Regions from separate parts of the Homo sapiens genome. Here regions 2, 3, 4 and 5 are each linked to region 1. The links are contacts of gene promoters, found by promoter capture Hi-C in human tissues and cell types (Jung and others, 2019). All regions are on one chromosome and are shown on one strand. The core of a region is centred on a gene start or on the middle of the fragment in contact, and the rest is flanking DNA. Distances in the headings are between cores, read along the strand shown.

Region 1 (3,988 bases), core at 658-3,157:
GGAACAGGCAACAGGGAATTCTACCAACAGGGAATTCTACCACAATCTATCTCTCTACCAAACAGGCACACACATTCATACCAGGGTGGGCATGTGGACTCTAATCCCTTCTTAGTGGAAAACACACATTTTTAAATGAATCCCCAATCTAGAATGAATTACCGTAATAGCCACAGCCGGAGTGAGTCTGCTGATGAGAAACGCAGATCTGGCCACCTGCTTTGAGACGCCTTGGACCACAACACTGCCGGGGTCTTTAACGGTTGGCCTTTTCGGGTAGGGCATCTGCCCTCCTAAATCGCGTTTAAATCCCAGGAAAAGAGAGAAGATGCCTCCCTCAATTTTTGAACTATGCTGCTCTTGCTGTATCCGTTTCTGCTGAACATAGCATTGATATCTTTTCAAAGAGAAGGGGGGAAAACAAGGGGAGAATTGCACCACTGCAGATTCCAAGAGAAGTAAGCACAAAACTACAGCAACGTCAAATAATATCTTCTTCGGCAACTAGGAAAATCCCCACATGCTCTCTGGTGTCAGCCCAATGCAGACTGAGGCGCGCTGTGCCCGGAACCACAGGAAGCCGGGCATCTCTGCAGCCTGTGTCCCTGCCAGCTCCCCCTACGCGCTGAAATTCGGCAGGGAAGAAGTTATGGTGCCCAGCCTCTGTGTGCAAGACAGAGACACCGCGCATCATGGCTCTGAAAATCAGCCAAGTGGCCGGGACGTCAAAGCGGCAGAGCAATCAGAATGCCCTGGAGCCGGGGATGGAGGGGCCACATTGTTTGAGCCCTCGGATTTTGCTGCATTGTCACCGCCCGGGAACGTGGGGGTAGCAGGAAGCGCACCTCCAGCCAAAAATGGACCGGACGCATTCCCCCCCCCTCCCCGCCCCGGCAGCTCCCTCCCTGCCTGTCTGCAAGTCGCAATACGGTAGGCGACATGACTGCTCCCGCTAAAACTCAGGTGGCAGGCCCGGCTGAGCGGCGCAGCCGGCCGGTAACAGGGAGGCGCTGGGGGAGCACCCACACAGCGCCTCCTCCCCTCCTGCACCCGTCCATGGGAGCAAGGGCCGGACCTGGCCACGCGCCCCTCGAGCGAGCACCGGCGAGCCCGTGCGGAGGCTCTGGGCGCTCTCTGGGCTAACCACGGGCATTGCATGGGACACAATTGTTCAAAAGCGAGCCCAAGGCGAAGCGCAAATCCAGAGCTTTGGTTCACAAGGGGTGGGTGTGGGCTGGGAAGGGGGATTACGTAGGTCTCTCCGCCCCCTCCCCTGACACCTCCTCGCCACTGGGAGGGCGCTGAGGGGCGGGGGAGGCGCTGCGAACCCGCTTGGGGGCTTCTTTGTTTCTCTCCGTACCCCGCAGGAGGGCCGGGTGCGCCTGCAGTACCCAAGCCGGGGTCGCCACCCGGGGATGCCGGCCCGGACCGGGCGGCGGCGCGACCCAGGCTGACAATTGAACCTCGCGGGAGAAGCGAGAGGGTGGGGAGGAGGGTGGATCTCGGCCCCGAGAAGGGAGGGCGCTGCCGGGGCCTCGCGTGCGGCGGGGAAGCCGCCCAGAGAAGGGCGGGGGGGAAGGGGCGGCAGACAGTGTCCCCGCGCTACGCCCGCTTACCTTGGCAGCCCTGGCCTGGGCACAGATCATGCTCCTGTCAGCGCGCAGATTAGAGCTGGGGGGCGCACGTGCCCCGCATAGTGCACCGGGCGCCTGGGACTGGCTGGGGAGGGGACCCTGGCGACCGCCCGCTCTCGCTGCGCTCTGGCTGCCGGGTGCCCCGAGAGAGCGGAGGCCACGGCCACTGTCACGGCGGAGGGGCGCGCGCGGCTCGGCGAGTGTGTGCGCGAGGAGGGGGCCGGTTCGGTCAGAGTCGCACGGTGTTCCGGCTCCAACAACAGCGCCTGATGCGCGGTAACGCAGCACACTTCATCGCTTTATCCTCCCGCTTGCATCCCCTCCCTCCCTGCCTGCTCCTCTGTGGGTACCAGACTCCAGAACCAACCACAAGCCGGGCTTGCTCTCATTAGCGCTGCCCCGCCCTGCAGCCTCCGCGCACCCCCACCCCCGCCCCCGCGGTAAATATATATCGATTCTTGTTACCGCCGGCCCCATCCTTCCAACACCCAGCACGCGTACTGGGCATATCCAACACCAACCCTGGCTCCTCGGCCCTTTTGTGTGTGTGCAAACAGTGTAGCAGAAAGGATGCGGTACAGACACTCTAGGCGGGTACCCTGTGACAGGTGTTCTTGGCCTCTGTCTTAGACACTTTCCTCGCTTACCTTACACACAGTTAAGAACGCTCAGAGACACATTTCAGGAACCGTCCTGTATTTGCACAAGCACACAAAACATCGTAATGACAAATGCAAAGGATGAAAATCACCCCAGAATATCTATTGTTGGGCAAACCTAGCTCCCAAACCGCGTTTTCTATTACACTGCACACAGTGTCAGAATGCTAGAACGAGAAGGAGGCAAAGTCTAGACCCTTCCAGGTACAGCCAACTGAGATGCAAAGAGAAGTGAAATGCTGGTTACTATTGGTGGTTGGCTGCTCCATGTATGCACATTTTTGTGCATCTGGTCGACATTTGGTTTGTGTGTGTTCACATAAAATGCAGAGGCTTTGAGCACATAATCTCTATAGCCTGGGATTTTATGATCCAACCACATTCTCTACAATGCTGATTTATTCCTTCCCATTATTTTGCCCAGCATCCTCTACATGAGCTTTTTTTCACTTTCTGAGAAGTTATCTTCTTTCCCAGACCCCAAACTCCGCCTCCTCTAGAATAAACAAAGGCTTCACCCTGACTTCAGAACTCCTTACTGAAGACCTGAGTACGGACTTGTCAAAACCAAATCTCCTTCCCCTTCCACCCACAGTGGCTAGTTTCTCAGTGCCTCTCATTCCACTGACCTGCCTCTTGGCATTGATTTCACTCTTACAACTGGAACTTTCCAGAACTGGAAACTTTGGACGATGTGAAGGCAGCTTCACCAGCTGTGCTCTTTTCTGCAAGGAGGCACAGCCCTTCTCTTTCCGTATTCCACTTGGGGTGCCCAGTCCTTTCCTGACAGACCCTTTTCTTTGCCTGACAGCAGTCAGATCTTCTGGTCAGATGAGCTCAAAGCAGACCATTTTCAAACCTTAGCTAAGAATCCACACAGAAAGCTGTGCACACATTTCTCCGGATTTTACACTTGGATTAGTACCAACTCCTATATGAAGAAAACTCTCCGAGAATAGACTTGAACAGGCTGTGGCAGTAAACAGCAACAGCAACCAACCATGTGATGTTTCCAACCAGAGACTTGAAAGAAAACAAAAACTTTCACATAAACCAGCATCCATGGTTTCTAAATTAGCACAATGTCACCAAACCACAATAAAGGATAATTTTTTTACCTCAACTAATTGCCAGGATGTTCACCTCATTATTTTCAGTGAATCAGCATCAACTTGGCTCAGAGATGTTTGCTCTCTGTTCTATCCATCATGGAGATGACTTGACAAGTCCACATCTCTCATAGAGGTTATTGATGTAGCAATCCTTGTGGTGTGCTTTATCCTCCCCTGAGGAGTTGCTTTTTTTATACTGAAGACAAAAGATATTAAAATAGCAGTACACAAAGTTTCACATCCTGAGTAGATAAAGAAGCCTTGTAGAGCAGCTTCTACATGTCAGGTGCAATGGCAGCATATACAGACTCCTGTGTATTGTCCCCTTTTATTTTTATTATTTTTATTTTTTGTGAGGGGTCTCACTCCAATGCCCAGGGTGGAGTATAGTGGTGCAATCTCCATTCACTGCAACCTCCGCCTCCCAGGCTCAAGCAACTCTCCCCCCTCAGCCTCCCGAGTACCTGGGAGTACAGGTGTGTGCCACCATGCCTGGCTAATTTGTTTTTTGTATTTTTAGTGGAGATGGGGTTTTGCCAAGTTGCCCAGGCTGGTCTTGAACTCCTGAGCTCAAGCAATCCTC
Region 2 (3,988 bases), core at 950-3,449, 220 kb before region 1:
TTCTTCCTCTTGCTCCTCGATGGAATTCCGTCCTCAACTCTCCTCTTCTCACAGTCTGTATCAGTCATCTTCACATTTACAGGCATATCAGAATAACATGGCATGCTTATTAAAAAGAAAGGCTCTTGCCTATGGAATCTGCATTTCTAATAACCACCCTGGGTAAACGACTGCCTTGCAATTTTCAGCAGGCTACACTTTGAGAAACACTACTTTACACTCCCCCTACACAAAGTCCTTCACACCCTCACTTCACACAGCAGTTGCTTGTTCCTTTCCCATCTCTGTTTCAAAGCCGGGTTCTTCTCCTTAGCACGCCGTGTCCGGGCAACTGTGTGCTGCATCTTTCCAGCCCACAGACACTTCAGCCTGAACTTGGTGTCTTCAATCCCCAAACTCGCCCCCTTTCTGACCCCTCAGTCTTGGATGATGTGCCGTAGAGGCAGCTGATTCTCCTTCTGCCCCTTTCCTCTCCCCAGGCACACATCCAGTTCCTCACCAAGCCATGTTGATCTTACCTCCTAAGCCTCTTTCTGAATCAGCCCCTTCCATTTTTCTCATTCCAGGTGTTCTTTGTTTCTCACCTGTTTTTATGCCATAGTTTCTTGGTGGTCTCAAGCCTCTAATATCAGCACCTTACAGTCTTCTCGCCACACTTCTGCCAGAATGCAGTTTCTAGAATGCAAGCCTAATCGGAATGCTTTTTCTACTTAAAGCATTTGCATAGCTCTGTGTGCTCTGCAGGCATATGTCTAAACTGCCTAGAACCTCTGACCCTGGGCTCCTTCCCTGGAATGTTTCTTTTCCAATTCTGTCTCACCTACCCCAGCCTCACCCCTTCCCACCCCTGTATGCCACTTGGCCCTGAGCCCAGACCTTCCTTCCCAACTGGCCGAGTTCCTGTAACTTGGAGGTGATTAGGTCTTTGCCCCAAGGTCAGGCTAGGGCTCCTCCTCTTACTATTTCACACAAAGCACAAAAAGAAGTACATGCTTGTCTCCCCAGTGTAATGCCAGAACCTTGGCATGCAGGGACGGAGCCTGCATGTCTAGATCTGAGCCCCTGGAGACCAGCACGATCCCCAGCAGGCCTCCAGCACAATAGGGCTAAGAGAGACAGCTGTATCTGTTATGTTCTCACACCGACTTGGCAACTTAAGGTTAATCCAGAAAAGTGTGACTTTGGGTTAATAGGGCCTTGACCCTTTATTTATGTCGATTGAGTGTTTTCTTCTCATTGGGAAGATCTGACATGTATCTGACTGGAAGCCGGCACCATCGTTTTGTATTGCTGCGAATCTGAATGGAATGTTCCGGTTATATCTTTCTGGCTGTTTTCTGTAATAACGCTCAGTCATGCTTTGTTATTTAATCTGAGGGACTGAGACCTCCATGCACTGCAGGTCAATTTTGATGTCCCCCAGATGCAATGGAATCCTTGATGTGCTGAGAAGTGACTGCACGCCTGCGTCTTGTCTTCCCACGTGGGCTGGGCCCTCCACTGCCACACGCCATTGTCTCATTGGCCGTGTTCAGTCAGATTGGCCTCTGGCAGCCCCATGCAGTTCAGACAGGGACCAGCAGCAACCGCAGCCCCTCTAGTTCACTGCTTCTTCTGTGTCCCATGTTGCAGGCCTTGACTGGGATTGCTGAAGGTGGATATGTTTCCCTGAAGTTGCCTTGCACGAATAGTCACAAACCCTTGTTTTTTTTGTTTTTTGTTTTTTGTTTTTAATTTGAGACAAGGTCTTGCTCCATAGCTCAGGCTAGACTGCAGACCTCCCCAGCTCAAGTGATTCTCCCATCTCAGCTTCCCAAGTAGCTGGGTCTACTGGTGCATGCCACCAAACAGAGCTAACATTTTTAAATTTTTATTTTTTGTAGAGATGGAGGTCTCACTTTGTTGCCCAGGCTGGTCTTGAGCTCCTGGGCTCTAGTGATCCTTCCGCCACTTCCTCCCAAAATGCTACGATTATAGGTGTGAGCCACTATGCCTGGCCCCAAATCCGTTTTATCATGTCATCCTAAAACTAAAATAATAATGATAATAATAATAATAATAATAATAATAATATAAATGGTTCATAGACTACATAAAGTCTAAGCACTTATCTTTCCTGTACTTCTCAGCTCCACCCTGCCGTGCCTTTAATCTTGCTCTTTAATCACTATTATGTTCTTTCTACATCCCATTAGCACACAGGATGCATAATATCTAATATATGATATCACATGATGCATGATAACCTCAAAGGGACAAAATTATCACTGTATGAATATTTCCAACCCTTTCACTTGGGGCTGCTAGAGAGTGCCTATGGACTTGGTAGCTTGGGCTCCTTCCTCTACCCAGGGGATGCCTCTCTAGCAAGATTAATTCTTTTGGGATTTTAAAGCAAAACTGGAAGGAAATAACGAAGGGAAGACCAACATGAGTACGAGGTATAACCAGAGGTAGGTTTATGGAGAAGTTTAGGTGGTAGGGACAGCAGGGAGGGGAATTAATTGTGTGGTGAAAGGATAAAAAGAATTTCAGGAGTATCACTGTGAACTCTATATTATTTTCCTAAAATTTAAGAAACACAAGTAAGAATATAAGCAACACGAATTACTTCACGACCGTTACACAGTGCAATTTTAACCATGATTTCAATTTAGCGTAGTGCTAAAGTGGGTGGGCAGCGGTGGGGGGAGTCTTGGTTTCCACGGAGCTCTATAAAAAAATCAGATGGCACAATAATATAAATACGCCTATTATCTTGCAGATATGTATATGGAGTCATACTTTTTCCTAACAGAAAACCTGTGAAGCAGTGCAATGATCACACCTTTACGTTGCACAGGTGGGGTTCAGTCTCCTCATGTAGACTTAACCTTCTTAAGGGCTTAGCGCCTATGGCCCAAGTATTTATTGTAGCACAGATTGAGACATCTCCTTGGAAATAACACAACAGTGATTGAAAATGGCAGCCCGCGGTGCAGTCCTTAGCCACACTGGCTCTAAAGGCAGAGCAGTCCTGGTGAAAACATGCCCAAGTTGAAATAAAAGGCTCTAACAACATGTCACCTTAACCATCTGGACTGTGGCCTGATGAAGCCCCTGTGTCTAGTCTTGGTGCTGGTGCCTCTGGTCCCAGCGAGCTTGTTCTGGCTCTGGCTGCTTCGCCGCAGGGAAACATTGCTCTGAATGTCAAGGGAGAGAAGGCCACCGGCTCCCCTGGAGCCCTGCTTTTCCTCCAGTGCCCTTTGGTCTCCAGCTTTGGCTGCAGAGCAGAGGGTTTCCCCACAGAAAACTCTCAGCATAAAGCCATTCATGTCTCAATTGTCACCAAGACACCAATATGTTCATTTCCAGAGCAGAAATAAAAGGTGGATGTACGATCCTGCCCTGTTTCCTCTCAGAGTGACACCTGTAATTCCTAATTCACAGCCCTCTAATTATGGCAGGGGGTCTGGTGTTGACTGAGCTCTTACTGTCCCTGACACATGGCTGGGCACTTCTCCTGAGTTTTTTCAGGTCATCTTCATGGGGCCGCCTTGTGGAGGACATATATCACTTTCATTTTATAGATGAAGAAACAGAATCTCAGAGTCCAGAGGGCCTCCCTGGGCGTGGGGTTGAGCCCCAAGTCACCGTGGCCATCATGCTGCCTCTGGCTTAGAAGCCACTGGCTGAAGCCCAGAGTGAGGAGGCAGATCCCGACAGCCCCTACCTGTGTGAGGTTCACCTCACCATGGTCAAGGGGGGAGTCATTACAAACTGTCAGTAAGGTTGGCTGCTTAGATTTTCTGTTATGTATCATCAGGAGCCCCTGTGTGTTTTTAAAATATGGGATGATGATTTAAATGGGATTAATGCCCTTGTAAGAGAGGTTGAAGGGGCACCCCAGCCCCTTTGGCCCCTCTGGTCCTACGCAGAAACAGCAAGAGGGCACTGTCTTTGAAGCTGAGCAGGCCCTCAGCAGAAGCAGAATCTGTTGGCACTGTGA
Region 3 (3,988 bases), core at 713-3,212, 190 kb before region 1:
TGGCCTGGGTTGGAGGGTTTGGAGACAGGCCAGGGCAGCTTTATCCAGAGCTCTACTTGCTGCTGGGCCCTGCTGGTCCTAACAGTCTAAAAGCAGAAACCTCCTACCCAACCCAATGGCAGGCACAAGAGATCACAAAAATCACTGCAGCCCACGCATTTCCTCTGAGTCACGACTGTTAAGGGAAACAATTCGTTAGGCTAAAAAGAAGGGCTCCACCTCTCTGGGAATTGCCTTCATCACCTGTCAAATAAGAAGAAAGTGTTGGGATGAGATTAAATACTGCCCCTGGGTCCTCCTCTCCCTCTCACATCCTGAGATTTGAGTCCTGCTTACCCATTTGTACCTCTGCTTGGGAACTGCTGTGTATGAGGGATGTTGTGGGACAGGGGCGGGTGTAGGGGCTCTCAGGTGTAAGGGAGGAGAGTGGGAGGTGGCTGCTAAACCACCATCTCTGTCTAACTCTTCAGCTCCCAGACACCTGTTCCTGAAACCTGTGCCTCAATTTGTGCTTTCAGCCTCAAAGCCATGTGCTAAAAAAGCTTTCTTTTGTGCTGGCCATTGTGTGGAAGAATATCACAGAATTACATAAACTAAATTGTGTGGGCTTCTTTTCTTTGAAAAAGAAATAAAATCCCACTCATTGCTGGCTGAAAGGGAACATTAGGGGGAGAAAATTTTAATAAGCAAATCAAGCCAAGCCAGATAATATCCACACAGGAAGTCATGATTTAAAATACAAGGAACTTGTTAAAATGCCAGTCAGACACATTATTTTAGGAACACATAATGCCTTATCGCTCATAAAAAAAAATCCACCAATAAGTGTAAGGTTGAACATCCCCTCCCACTTTTGACTCTGCAGCCCTTTGATGGCAGGTGTTGGGGGGCGGGGGGTGGGGTGGTCTTTGCTCCTTGTCGCTCGCACACCATTCTCACTCACACGTAAGAGAAACCAGCTGGAGGCCAGGCTCCAGGAGGGGCATGATTGGACCATTCACTGCTTTGCTCAAGTCTAGGACTGCTTGGTGCAGCTCTGGGTTATTTGGGAGGTTTATGTTTGGAGGCGTTCAGCAGCGAAGTTGCTGAAATCTGGGTGGTTTGTATGGGCAGAGGAATGGGCAGGGGGCTGTGGGTGTGGGAGAGGGAGGAAGGTGGCAGCCAGGAGGGCCTCGTCAGGTTAGCTGGGGCAAATTCCTGTTCATAATATTTAGCACCTCCTCTGGTTTACACAGAAAGGAAAGGTGAGAACTGGTATTCCTGTGTGTGTGTGTGCGCGCATGTGTGTGTGCACGTGTGTGGGTGTGTGTGGTGTGTGTGTAAGACACAGAGACAGAATGAATGGGAACTTACAGATGTGAGAAAGAGACCCATTTTTCCCTTCTCAATGTTAGGAAATACTGTTTCTTCCTCAGGAAGGCACTAGCCTGATTGAAAGTGGAAAAGTTTCCTCTTTACCTACTGATACCTGCAGAGGAAAAGGATATGTGTTCACCTCCCAGAACCACAGTGCGGCTCCAGGGGCCCAAGGCGCCCAGCTCCAGGAGCCCTGCGGACCATACAGGAGAGAAAGGGAGGTGGAGCTGCTGTGAGCCAGCCACATCATCCTCCCGGGGCGGCCCCGTACCGGGCATTTGTGAGGAGCCCCCATGATGACCTCAGCCTCACTCCATCCTGAGCCCAGCAGGGCTTGTGCTGTGCTGAGTGGGGTCACTGTGCCTCTTCCCGTAACCAGGGCACCACCACCTGCTTGGCTACAGTCCAGTCTCCAAAAGCCAACCCACAATACTGTGAATCACACAGGAACCCACAGTGACAGTCATGGGAGGGTTCTGGGCCAGCCCCTCCTCTTATTCACCGGGAAGCTGAAGCCTGAGAAGGGCAGCTGCCTGCCCTGACCACGCAGCAGGGGAGCAGCAGGGCCCCAAGTGGACCTTGAGACTCCCTGCGGCCAGTTAGCTGCCTCATCCATGGCCTGAGCTGCCTGGCTTGGGAGGGAGCCTCAGGCTTGTTGAGAAGCCTGAGGAGCCTCAGGCTGTTGTAAGCCAGTGTGTTTCCCTCCTCCATTCATGGTCGTGTCCTCATTTGCCTGCTATTAGGTGATGGGGCCAGACAGGGATTACAGTTCTAAGAAATACACTTAGGAGGGTTTCAGATGCAGTGCTGAGTTTGTATCCTCATTGAAATTAATACTCAAAAGCATGTTATCATTTGTCATGGAGGATCAAGGTGCTGTAAAGATGCTCTCTTTTAAATTCTTATATCCCCTGGGTGGTTTGACCCAGCATCTTTGGGTTTATTTTTAAGTAAATCCTGTCTTTGGTTTTATTCTCCTGCTTCTTTTTTTTTTTTTTTTGACAGAGTTTCCACTCTTGTTGCCTAGGCTGGAAGGAAATGGTGCGATCCCAGCTCACTGTAACCTCTGCCTCCCGGGTTCAAGAGATTCTCCTGCTTCAGCCTCCCGAGTAGCTGGGATTACAGGTGCGTGCCACCGTACCTGGCTAATTGTTTTGTATTTTTAGTAGAGAAGGGGTTTCACCATGTTGGCCAGGCTGGTCTTGAACTCCTGACCTCAAGTGATCCACCTTGACCTCCCAAAGAGCTGGAATTACAGGCGTGAGCCACTGCATCTGGCTTCTTCTTCCTTCCTTTAGCCCAGTCAATCAGGAAATGTGGATGGAGTCTTTAGTGTGTACCAGGCCTTGTGCTAAATGCTGAGTATGGATACAGAGAGGACTTAAACAGTGCTCATAGCCTCGGAGAGTTTGGTGCAGGAGGCAGACATTTAAGCAGTCAACTATGACACAATGGTGAGGGCAATAATGGGGTGGTGGGCATGGTCCCCCCTAGAAGGGAGAGAGATGCTGGGACCACCTTCCCAGATGGGAGGACATGGAAGCTGGACCTGGAAGGAAGGGGCAAGAGCTGAGGGAAATCCAATCTAAGCAGAAGGAACTTCTCGTGGAAAAGCGTATCTTTACTAGAAGCATGCTGAGCTTCCAGATTCAGCAGAGCTCCTCTTAGCTGTCTGCCAGACAGTGTTGGGGGCAGCTGGAAGTGTGTGAAAGGGGTCTCCCATGGCACACCAAGAAATAAGACCTTCTCCATTGGAGAGTGGGGGGCCACGGAGGTTTTGTTCACCTTAGAAACTTCACACTGCAGCAATGAGGGGGAGAGCAAGGTGGACAGAGCTGCTGTGTCTTGGGGAGCCCAAGTATAGCTCTCCTGAATGCCAAGGTCTACATGCAGGGAGAAGCTTTACCAATCAAGTGGTCCCTCAAGTCTAAACAAGTGGCACCGTGGCAGAAGTTACTGACAAAGTAGCAGGGGCGGCTCCTGGGCGGGTGCAGGGACAGTGTGCAGCTCTCACATCAGTGTGGGAGGTCATCGTACCTGCTTTTCCAGATCACCCATCAAGCCAGAAGAAGGCCCCATGTTGGACTGCAGCTCTGATAAGTGTGCCAGTCATTGGGATTATGAACCATAATGCCCATCATCAGTACACAGTGGGGTTGAACCAGCAGCAGCAGCACTTTCCTTTTGTGATCAAAGTGCCCCGGATGAACACGGCCATATCTGATATAAATTCAGTGTTGATGTCTCAGAGCATTTATGAGAGCAACTTAGAGCCATGATGAAGAGTGAAGCAGGCATGGCCGTTAGCAATATAAAGTCATCTCTCTCTCCTACATTTCATACCTATATTGGCAATATAAAGGAATCTCTCGCTCCTTCCACCCTTCTTCCACCCTCTTCTATCCCTCTTCCACCCTTGAAAGGAGACAAAGCCAGTTCATATTCCAGATGGGGCCACAGGTAGCACGTTCCTTCCCAGGTTCCTTCCCTGTCATCACTCTGCCCACTCTTGTGCTCTTTCTAGCTCTAACTGTCACTCAGTTCCAATTCTGGCTGCCACACGCCTTAGCCACACCAGGCTGCACCATCTCAGCAGCAGGCTGTGATAGGAGGACTGGCAGAGGTGGTTTAC
Region 4 (3,988 bases), core at 620-3,119, 150 kb after region 1:
CCTGTTACCTCATTATCTACAGCAGAAAAGAAGGTTGAAGAATGTAACCACACCTGGATAAACTTTTCCACAAGATAATGCCTGCCTCTCCACCTCACATTCTAAAGATAATCATCATTTACAAGTTAATTTCTGTATCCCTGGTCCATTCATTTTCCCTAATAATCGTTTACCACCCTTTAAAGAACTGGCTACATTCCCTATATCCTTCCTCCTCTATGAAAAAGGGTATAGAAGCTTCTGTACCCCATTAGGAGATTGGGGTAATCACTGTTTGATTCCCTCACCCACATGTTAATAAATTTGTATGCTTTTTCTCCTATTAATCTGCCTTCTGTCAGTTGATTTTCAGTGAACTTTTACAGAATGCAGGGGAAGTTTCCCTTGGCCCCTACAGTTTTGCACTGTGAGCAGGATAGCAAAACTGCTCTGCTCTTCTGGAAGCCACAGTCAAGGGAGCCCAGGACTCAACAAACCCGTAGGATAAGAAATTCTTACCAGCCAGGCTCCAAGCCTCTCTTTGTGCAATCTGGTCCAGTAGACAGTAAAAGTCACTGTCCCTTTCCCTCTCCAAAGTCTTTTTTTTTTTTTTTTTTTTTTTTGAGACAGAGTCTCACTCTCTTGCCAAGGCTGGAGTGCAGTGGTACGATCTTGGCTCACTGCAACCTCTGCCTCCCAGGTTTAAGCAATTCTTGTGCCTCAGCCTCCCGAGTAGCTGGGATTACAGCCATGCACCACCACTACCTAGTGGTGGTGCTAATTTTTGTGGTTTTAGTAGAGATGCGATTTTGCCATGTTGGCCAGGCTGGTCTCAAACTCCTGACCTCAGGTGATACACCCACCTGAGCTTCCCAAAATGCTGGGATTATAGGAGTGAGCCACCGTACCTAGTTGAAAGTCTTGATTAATGGAGGAAAAGGATTTGTGAGCCTAGTCTTAGGTGTAGCAACTCTGGTGTACTTTTTGGTATGAAAATTCATATTGTCTTTTTCCTCCCAGAAATAGTCTTGTCTTTTGTCTTTGTCTTTCTGTGTTGTTCTGTCATAAAGAGGGATTGTGTCAATATGAGATAATAAGAAGGGTCAAAATCTAGTTTTAAAGAGTTTAATCAAGAAGAAAGCTGGGAATGGCCATTCTGGGACACACAGATTTCAGAGAAATAGGATCAGTGCTCTGAAGTTAAAAGTTAAGTTTTTGCTTATATAGGAAGAAGACAAAGAAATTTAACAGGATTATATTTCCTATATACTGGTTTAAGAGTTATAACAAATTAATTAGTTAGAGTTTGTTTTCTTTTCTGTATGGCTTGTTTTATTCATAGCTGATTTTCATTTCCTTTCCAATTTAAAAGAGTATGTTTAACATTCCATCTTAAGACAATGTGGTAGTCATGAAGTCTTTGTGTGAGAAAGGTGAGAGGGAGGTTAATCTACAATGAAGATCAACAGAGGAGAAGGAAGGGGTCTTCCTTGGTGCCCTTCTGTCATTCATGTCATTTTATTAACACAAAACAATACAGGTAAGGAAGGAGGCTTAATCTATAATCAGAGAAACAAAGGTTACAGCTGTCTGTTATGTGATGCAGGCCCATAATCACATTCCTTTAAGGTTCAAAATAATTTTAGAGTTCCAATACCTTCAATTTGGATTACTTATTTTTACATTTTTCTTCTTTTTGGAAGAAAGTTCTTCAAGAACTTTTTGAAGAAACCATCATAGATGAATTTAATGGTTGGACTCCTTTTATGTTGAGAAATTTTGATCCCATGTCACTAGGAAGGCACACTCCTAGGATGTCATGTCCCCTAGCAAAGGATGATTAAACCAGCTGTAAGCTGATGTAGTATAGGCTGAATTTAAGTCAGCATAAAGAAAGTGATTTTGTGTGTTAGGCTAAATAGCTATATCTTCAATTTATGCAACTATTTGGGGGACCATTATTTTAGTCTTTTCAGTCACAAGTTGACTCCATTTTAAACAAATGCTGTAACAACAGTGTAGACAAAACCAGAACAAAACACAATATGCAATTACAATTCCTAGAATAAGTAACAGCTTTTGCTGTTAAGTTACCCAAGATCCAAACCATCTACTTAGCTAGTCACTTAGAGAAGATTTGGGATCTGAAAAGTTGGTTATTGAGGTTTTCATATCAGCCATTCATTTATTGATGTTATTAGACTCATCTAGTATAGAGACACAACATTCAGTTTTTATGATGGTACCTTGGGCTGCAGTGGGTGTGTCTAAAACTTGTTGTGCCATACAGCCTTTCTTGTAATAGCAACTTCATTGTTTAATAACAAAGTACTGATGTGGCTATCATTTAGAGCCTGTAGTGTATAATTGATCGGGGCCTCTACATGCCAAATAACATTCTCAAATACCCAGTTGTGGGATGAAGATGGAAGCTAAATGATCATACCAATGGAACACAGAAAAAGCCCAGCAGGATTATAAATGAGGAAAATTTGCAGGTTTTGATAGGGAATGAACTATTTGACCTTGTGCCCAAGCATAACCCAAGGAACATTGTCCTAGCCATCCTGGGAGTAGCCATGTCCATAGATTAGTGCCACATGACCAAAACTTTCCATTTGAAGCTAACCAAGAAATACTCAGTTGTTGTATCTATTCAGTGGCAGGCCAATCAGTATTTTGTAATGTAATGGTGTTGAAACACTGTTCTTTGGGTATCCATCCCATATTTCTGGTGCAATTAGGCCAGTTATCTTTAATGTAATTTCTCTGGTCCCAACATAGACAACGTAGCTGAGCTGACGGGAGGGAATAAGCCAGATAAACCCATCTTAAATTTGTGTTATATGATACTGAAGTTGAGTTTTCTTATAACTGAGTACCCTATTTTTAAGGTTTTTTTCCTCTTCCTTCTTCAGTCCTTTTCTATTAACTTTTTAGTAATAAAATAATATCCTTTACTCTCCTTCTTTCCACAAGGCACTCCCTTGCATTGCTAGCTTATCTAATTATGCTTGCTTAGAAGTTCCAGAGATTGAATCTTGAGACAATCCAGGTGCCTATGGAATTATCCCCCACCAGGAGATTACTTCAAGCCTGCAGCTAATTTACAACCCAGTCAAGCCCGAGATGGCACCAGCTCATTCACAAGTTGGAGCAATAACTCAAGATAAGTCATCAGAACAAGTCATATAGACCCACACCACCTTGCCACCCCCAACTCCCGCATTTCCTCCATACCAAACTTCCCCTTCTCAAGCTCTAGTGTTTTGCCTGAGAATTTTAAAGTGGTTTCATCAAGGCAGGAGCCTGAACTACTTCCCACTGTCAATATTGGAACATAAAGTCACTTCACTTTCTTTCTATCACACCTTGTCCTTGTTACTTGATTCTGCAAGTGACAAACGGCCAAATCTGCATTCAGTTACAATTTTTGGTGTCCTGTACAGGGAAGCTGTGCATTCTGGGTGATCCTAGTCTGTCAGTCTGGCTTCATGCTACCAAATGGGCCAGGGGGCTGCCTGTGAGCACCAGCTGCTTATAGCTAGCTGACATTATGGCCAAAACCCTGGGGAATTTCCCTGAAACTGACAGTTTTGTCCTGGGGAACCTCCCTGCTCTTTCTGCCATGGCACTGGCTGGCTTCTACACTTCACTGGTACAAAGAAAGTGACCTCTGAGTAAGTCGACACACTTTGGAAATTGGATGAGGCAGCTGGTGTGCACCCAGCTTAGCTCTGTCTTTTTGGGTGGTATTGCTTGGACTCTGCTCTGCTTAGAATTAGGTGCTCACAACACAGTTTGGGCATGCACACCATTTGTGTTTGTGATGCCACTGGAGCTTTGCTCTGTTTGGACTCAGCTGCTCTTGGAGCCATTTGTGATCAGGATGGAGGAGGTTTCCAGACTCTTTACCCAGCCCCTTGAGCGGGGACTTTGTTTGGGAGAGCGCCATTTGAAATTGTGACTGTGTGAGTGTGTAGCATTTATATTTGGACCCTTATCTTTC
Region 5 (3,988 bases), core at 623-3,122, 130 kb after region 1:
GCTTGAGATCAGGAGTTTGAGAACAGCCTGGCCAATATGGTGAAACCCTGTCTCTACTAAAAAATACAAAAATTAGCCAGGAGTGGTAATGCATGCCTGTAATCTCAGCTACTATGGAGGCTGAGACAGGAGAATTGCTTAAACCCAGGAGGCAGAGGCTGCAGTGAGCCAAGATAGTGCCATTGTGCCACTGTACTCCAGCCTGGGTGACAGAGTGAGAGACTCCATCTCAAAAAAAAAAAAAAGTGACTATATGAGTTATACTTTGGAGATCTCTGGGGTTAAGGCCTGTTGTTACATATTATAGAACATCTTCTCTTGTTTTTTTTTATTTGTTTGTTTTTGTTTTTGTTTTTGGCATTTATATCATTTTAACAAAAGAAGTGAGAAAGGCTAAGTGTCTAGAATGCTTTCTCTTTTAGCAGTAGAACCTCTGGAGGTAGACATTTAGCAAGAAGCCTGCTAAACTGCAGACTAATTCCCTCCAACTTTGGTTAAATTTCTATCCCCCCATTAAAATCCCCAAATGCAATGTCATTAGCAGCATTCATTGCTCCTTGTAAGAGCTGGGAATGCACCCCAGATGTTGTGTTTTGAGCACAAAGGCCTGTGTGCCAGATTCACAGCATGGCTTAGAACCTTCTGAACCCCGCCCACTCTACAAGATACTCTTTGTGGCCTCTCCTAGGCTTCCAACATTATTATACAACCCCAGGCTTCTTCCTCTTTTGTAACCTCTCAGACAAGTAATAGATGCACTGTAGTCTTTGCCAGAAAATAAAATGAAAAGGAATGAGAAGTCCCTGCCAGAGTGGTTTTCTTTTGATGCTTTCTTTCATCTTCCTTCACCTCCCCTGTGGGGAAAGATAGGCAATGTATTTATCAGCTTTTATTATCTTGATTTATAACCTCAGGTCCCAATTAGAAGGTAAAACATGAAGGCATAGATTTAAATGGTGCCAATTGTGCCCTTTCCATTTCATTCTTTTCTCTCTTTTGTCAGAAAAAAATCCTTTGATTTCATTTCTTCGTTCTTTATAATACTGTATTGATCTGCCAGTATAGAGAATGCATCAGCAACTCTCTTATCTTTGGCTAATACTACATTTTTCTGCACTAACTACAACCCACAAACTGTACATTTGTGTCATTACATGTCTGGTTTGCACACATTAAATTAGATATACAATGTGCATTCTATACTTTATTGAGTCGATTATGACAAGAATTGTGATGAATGGCATTTGGTAGCTTTCATTTATCATCCAGAAAGCTTCATTTTCCAACATCAATCAGGCAATTAAAAGGACCGCTAGTAGGCTGACCTATTGTGTGTCTTCATTCTCTTACTTTGTTTCATGTTCATTATGGTTCACAGTACAGAATGATGACATTCCTGCATTCATTCATTCAGTCATTCAAACAATTTTCATTGCATGCCTTCTAAGTGCTGGACACCAGTCAAGGCACAGGGAAGAACACTAAAATAACAGACAAAATCCTTTCTCTTGTGTGGCTAACAAGAAAGGGCTGGGAAGGATAACAGACCAATAAACCGTGTATTTGTAATATATGCAGGGGCATGAGCACTAGGCTGGGGAAAGGGCTAGTGAGGACAGGAAAGGGAAAGGAGGCCACAGTAGTCAGGAAGATCCTCTTTAAGAAGGTGACCTGGAGCAGAGACTTGCATGAAGTAGAGAAGCAAACTCTGCAGCCACCTGTGAGAGCCTTCCAAGCACAGGGAGCAACATGTGTCAAGCAACATGAGGATGCAGCAGAGCCAGCATATACGAGAAACTGAAAGGACATGAAATCTGGTGCACAGGGAGTGACCGGGAAAGTGGCTGGAGAGTAGGTAGCAGATGGATAGATTTATGTAAGGCCATGTGAGCCAATGACAACTTGATTTCATTCTGAGAGAGTTGGGATGCCATCAGAGGACTTTGAGCAGAGGGAACATAATCTGACTTTTGCTTTAAAAGAGTCACTCCAGCTGTAGTGAGAATAGACAATTGAGGGTAACAGTAGAAACCAGGAAACCAGATATGAGTTATTACAATAATCTGGGAAAAGATAATGGTGTCTTAGACCAGGATGGCAGTGGTGGAGGGTAGAGAGACAAGGTTAGGTTTGTATTGTGAAGGCAAAGCCGGTAGGCTTTGCTGACTAACTAGATAGCGATGAGAGGAGTAGGAACAAGGGTAACTCCAAGAATTGGAGATGCATATCTGGATGAATGAAGTTGGTGTTTGCTGAGAGAGGGAAGCCTGAAGAAAGAGAAATTAGAGACAGGCAGGAAGAAACCAAGAGGTCTCTTTTGGGCATATTAACTTGGGGTTCCTACTCCCCAACAATCACCAATTAATAAATTTTCATCCTTCTCATAGATTAGTCTTGATTGCAGCATAGACTTGTGGCTGAGTGTGGTCTCTGGAGCCTGTCTTCCTTGTCTTGAAGCCCACCCACACTAGCTCTGTAATCTGAAAGAAATGACAACTTTTCTGTACCTCAGTTTCTTTTAATGTTTAGTTTTCTTATACAAACAACTTTTTTTTCCATAAGTTTTTGGAGTACAGGTGGCATTTGTTTACATGAGTAACCAAATAAGTTCTTTAGTGGTGATTTGTGAGATTTTGGTGTACCCATTACCCAAACAGTATACACTACACCATATTTGTAGCCTTTTATCCCTCGCCCCCCTCTCACTCTTCCCCCCAAATCCCCAAAGTCCATTGGATCATTCTTATGCCTTTGCATAATAATTAAATTAGATGTACAATGTGCATTCTATACTTTATAGCTTAGCTTTACTTTATAGCTTAGCTCCCATATATCAGTGAGAACATGGGATGTTTGGTTTTCCATTTTTGAGTTCACTTAGAATAATAGTCTCCAATCTCATCCAGGTCACTGCAAATGCTGTTAATTCATTCCTTTTTATGGCTGAGTAGATAACATAATACCACAGTTTCTTTATCCATTCGTTGATTGATTGGCATTTGGGTTGGTTCCATTATTTTGCAACTGGGAATTTTGCTTCTATAAACATGCATGTGCAAGTATCTTTTCCGAATAATGACTTCTTTTCCTCTGGGTAGATACCCAGTAATGGGATTGCTGGATCAAATGGTAGTTCTGCTTTTAGTTCTTTAAGGAATCTCCATACTGTTGTCCATAGTGGCTGTACTAGTTTACATTCCCACCGGCAGTGTAGAAGTGTTCCCTGTTTACCACATCCATGCCAATATCTACTGTTTTTTTTATTTTTTTGATTATGGCCATTCTTGCAGGAGTAAGGTGGTATCACATTGTGGTTTTGATTTGCATTTCCCTGATCATTAGTGCTGTTGAGCATTTTTTTATGTTTGTTGGCCATTTGTATAGCTTCTTTTGATAATTGTCTATTCATGTCCTTAGCCCACTTTTTGATGGGATTGTTTGTTTTTTTCTAATTTCTCAGTGATAAATACATATTGTTTATTTTATAAAATAGTTCTTTTTCAAGGAAGAAATTCTAGTGATAGCAGAATTAATATGCACTGAAAAATATGGGTATTTCAGTTATGTTAGAAACTTTAAAATCATTTAAAGACAGAATCCAAACAAGGTTTGATTGGAGAGAAAAAAAACAGTAAAATACATTTTTGAAGCAATCTGGAAAATTTCATCATGGACTGGAGATTAGATTGCATTTGTCAAACTAGGGCCTGCTGCCTGTCTTAGTAAATAAAGTTTTGGTAGACTACAGTCATGCTTGTTTGTTTATGAGTAGTCTAAGGCTGCTTTCTTTTCATAACAGCAGAAGTTGAGTAATTTTGACAAAGAACCCAGAGCTCACAAAGCCAAATGCACTTATTATTTGGCCTTTTATAGGAAAAAAATGCTGATACATTAAAGTTACATGAAAAACATTCATAACTTTTGGAGAGTCAAATGGAATAATCTCTACATATTTCTCTCTCATATCTAAAATTTGCTTTAATATATT

Evidence for each region. The method cuts DNA at HindIII sites, captures the fragments that hold promoters and counts their contacts. A contact is called where the count stands out against the background at its distance.
Region 2: a contact is called between a fragment that was not itself captured here and the fragment with the promoter of HECW1 in region 1, in 3 of the 25 tissues and cell types used here (IMR-90 fibroblasts, aorta and dorsolateral prefrontal cortex).
Region 3: a fragment that was not itself captured here is called in contact with the fragment with the promoter of HECW1 in region 1 in 2 of the 25 tissues and cell types used here (H1 embryonic stem cells and dorsolateral prefrontal cortex).
Region 4: a contact is called between a fragment that was not itself captured here and the fragment with the promoter of HECW1 in region 1, in 1 of the 25 tissues and cell types used here (mesenchymal stem cells).
Region 5: a fragment that was not itself captured here is called in contact with the fragment with the promoter of HECW1 in region 1 in 1 of the 25 tissues and cell types used here (mesendoderm cells).

Annotation. Positions count from the first base shown.
Region 1 is chr7:43,110,566-43,114,553 of GRCh38, reverse strand. It overlaps HECW1 (HECT, C2 and WW domain containing E3 ubiquitin protein ligase 1), which reads right to left and starts at 1,907. Exons shown (of 30, transcript NM_015052.5): 1 at 1,617-1,907; 2 at 163-397. The HindIII fragment of the contact is 15,211 bases long and covers 1-3,988 here.
Region 2 is chr7:43,326,047-43,330,034 of GRCh38, reverse strand. All of the region lies in intron 5 of HECW1 (HECT, C2 and WW domain containing E3 ubiquitin protein ligase 1), which reads right to left. Among named protein-coding and RNA genes, the nearest start is that of MIR3943, 180 kb to the right of the region's middle. The HindIII fragment of the contact is 6,763 bases long and covers 1-3,988 here.
Region 3 is chr7:43,300,243-43,304,230 of GRCh38, reverse strand. All of the region lies in intron 3 of HECW1 (HECT, C2 and WW domain containing E3 ubiquitin protein ligase 1), which reads right to left. LOC102724903 (a long non-coding RNA gene) reads left to right here and starts at 3,920. Exons shown (of 3, transcript XR_428133.5): 1 at 3,920-3,988. RefSeq lists an enhancer at 1-5. The HindIII fragment of the contact is 4,198 bases long and covers 1-3,988 here.
Region 4 is chr7:42,960,499-42,964,486 of GRCh38, reverse strand. No RefSeq gene overlaps it. Among named protein-coding and RNA genes, the nearest start is that of MRPL32, 30 kb to the right of the region's middle. RefSeq lists an enhancer at 3,743-3,862. The HindIII fragment of the contact is 3,536 bases long and covers 102-3,637 here.
Region 5 is chr7:42,978,471-42,982,458 of GRCh38, reverse strand. No RefSeq gene overlaps it. Among named protein-coding and RNA genes, the nearest start is that of MRPL32, 48 kb to the right of the region's middle. The HindIII fragment of the contact is 3,571 bases long and covers 87-3,657 here.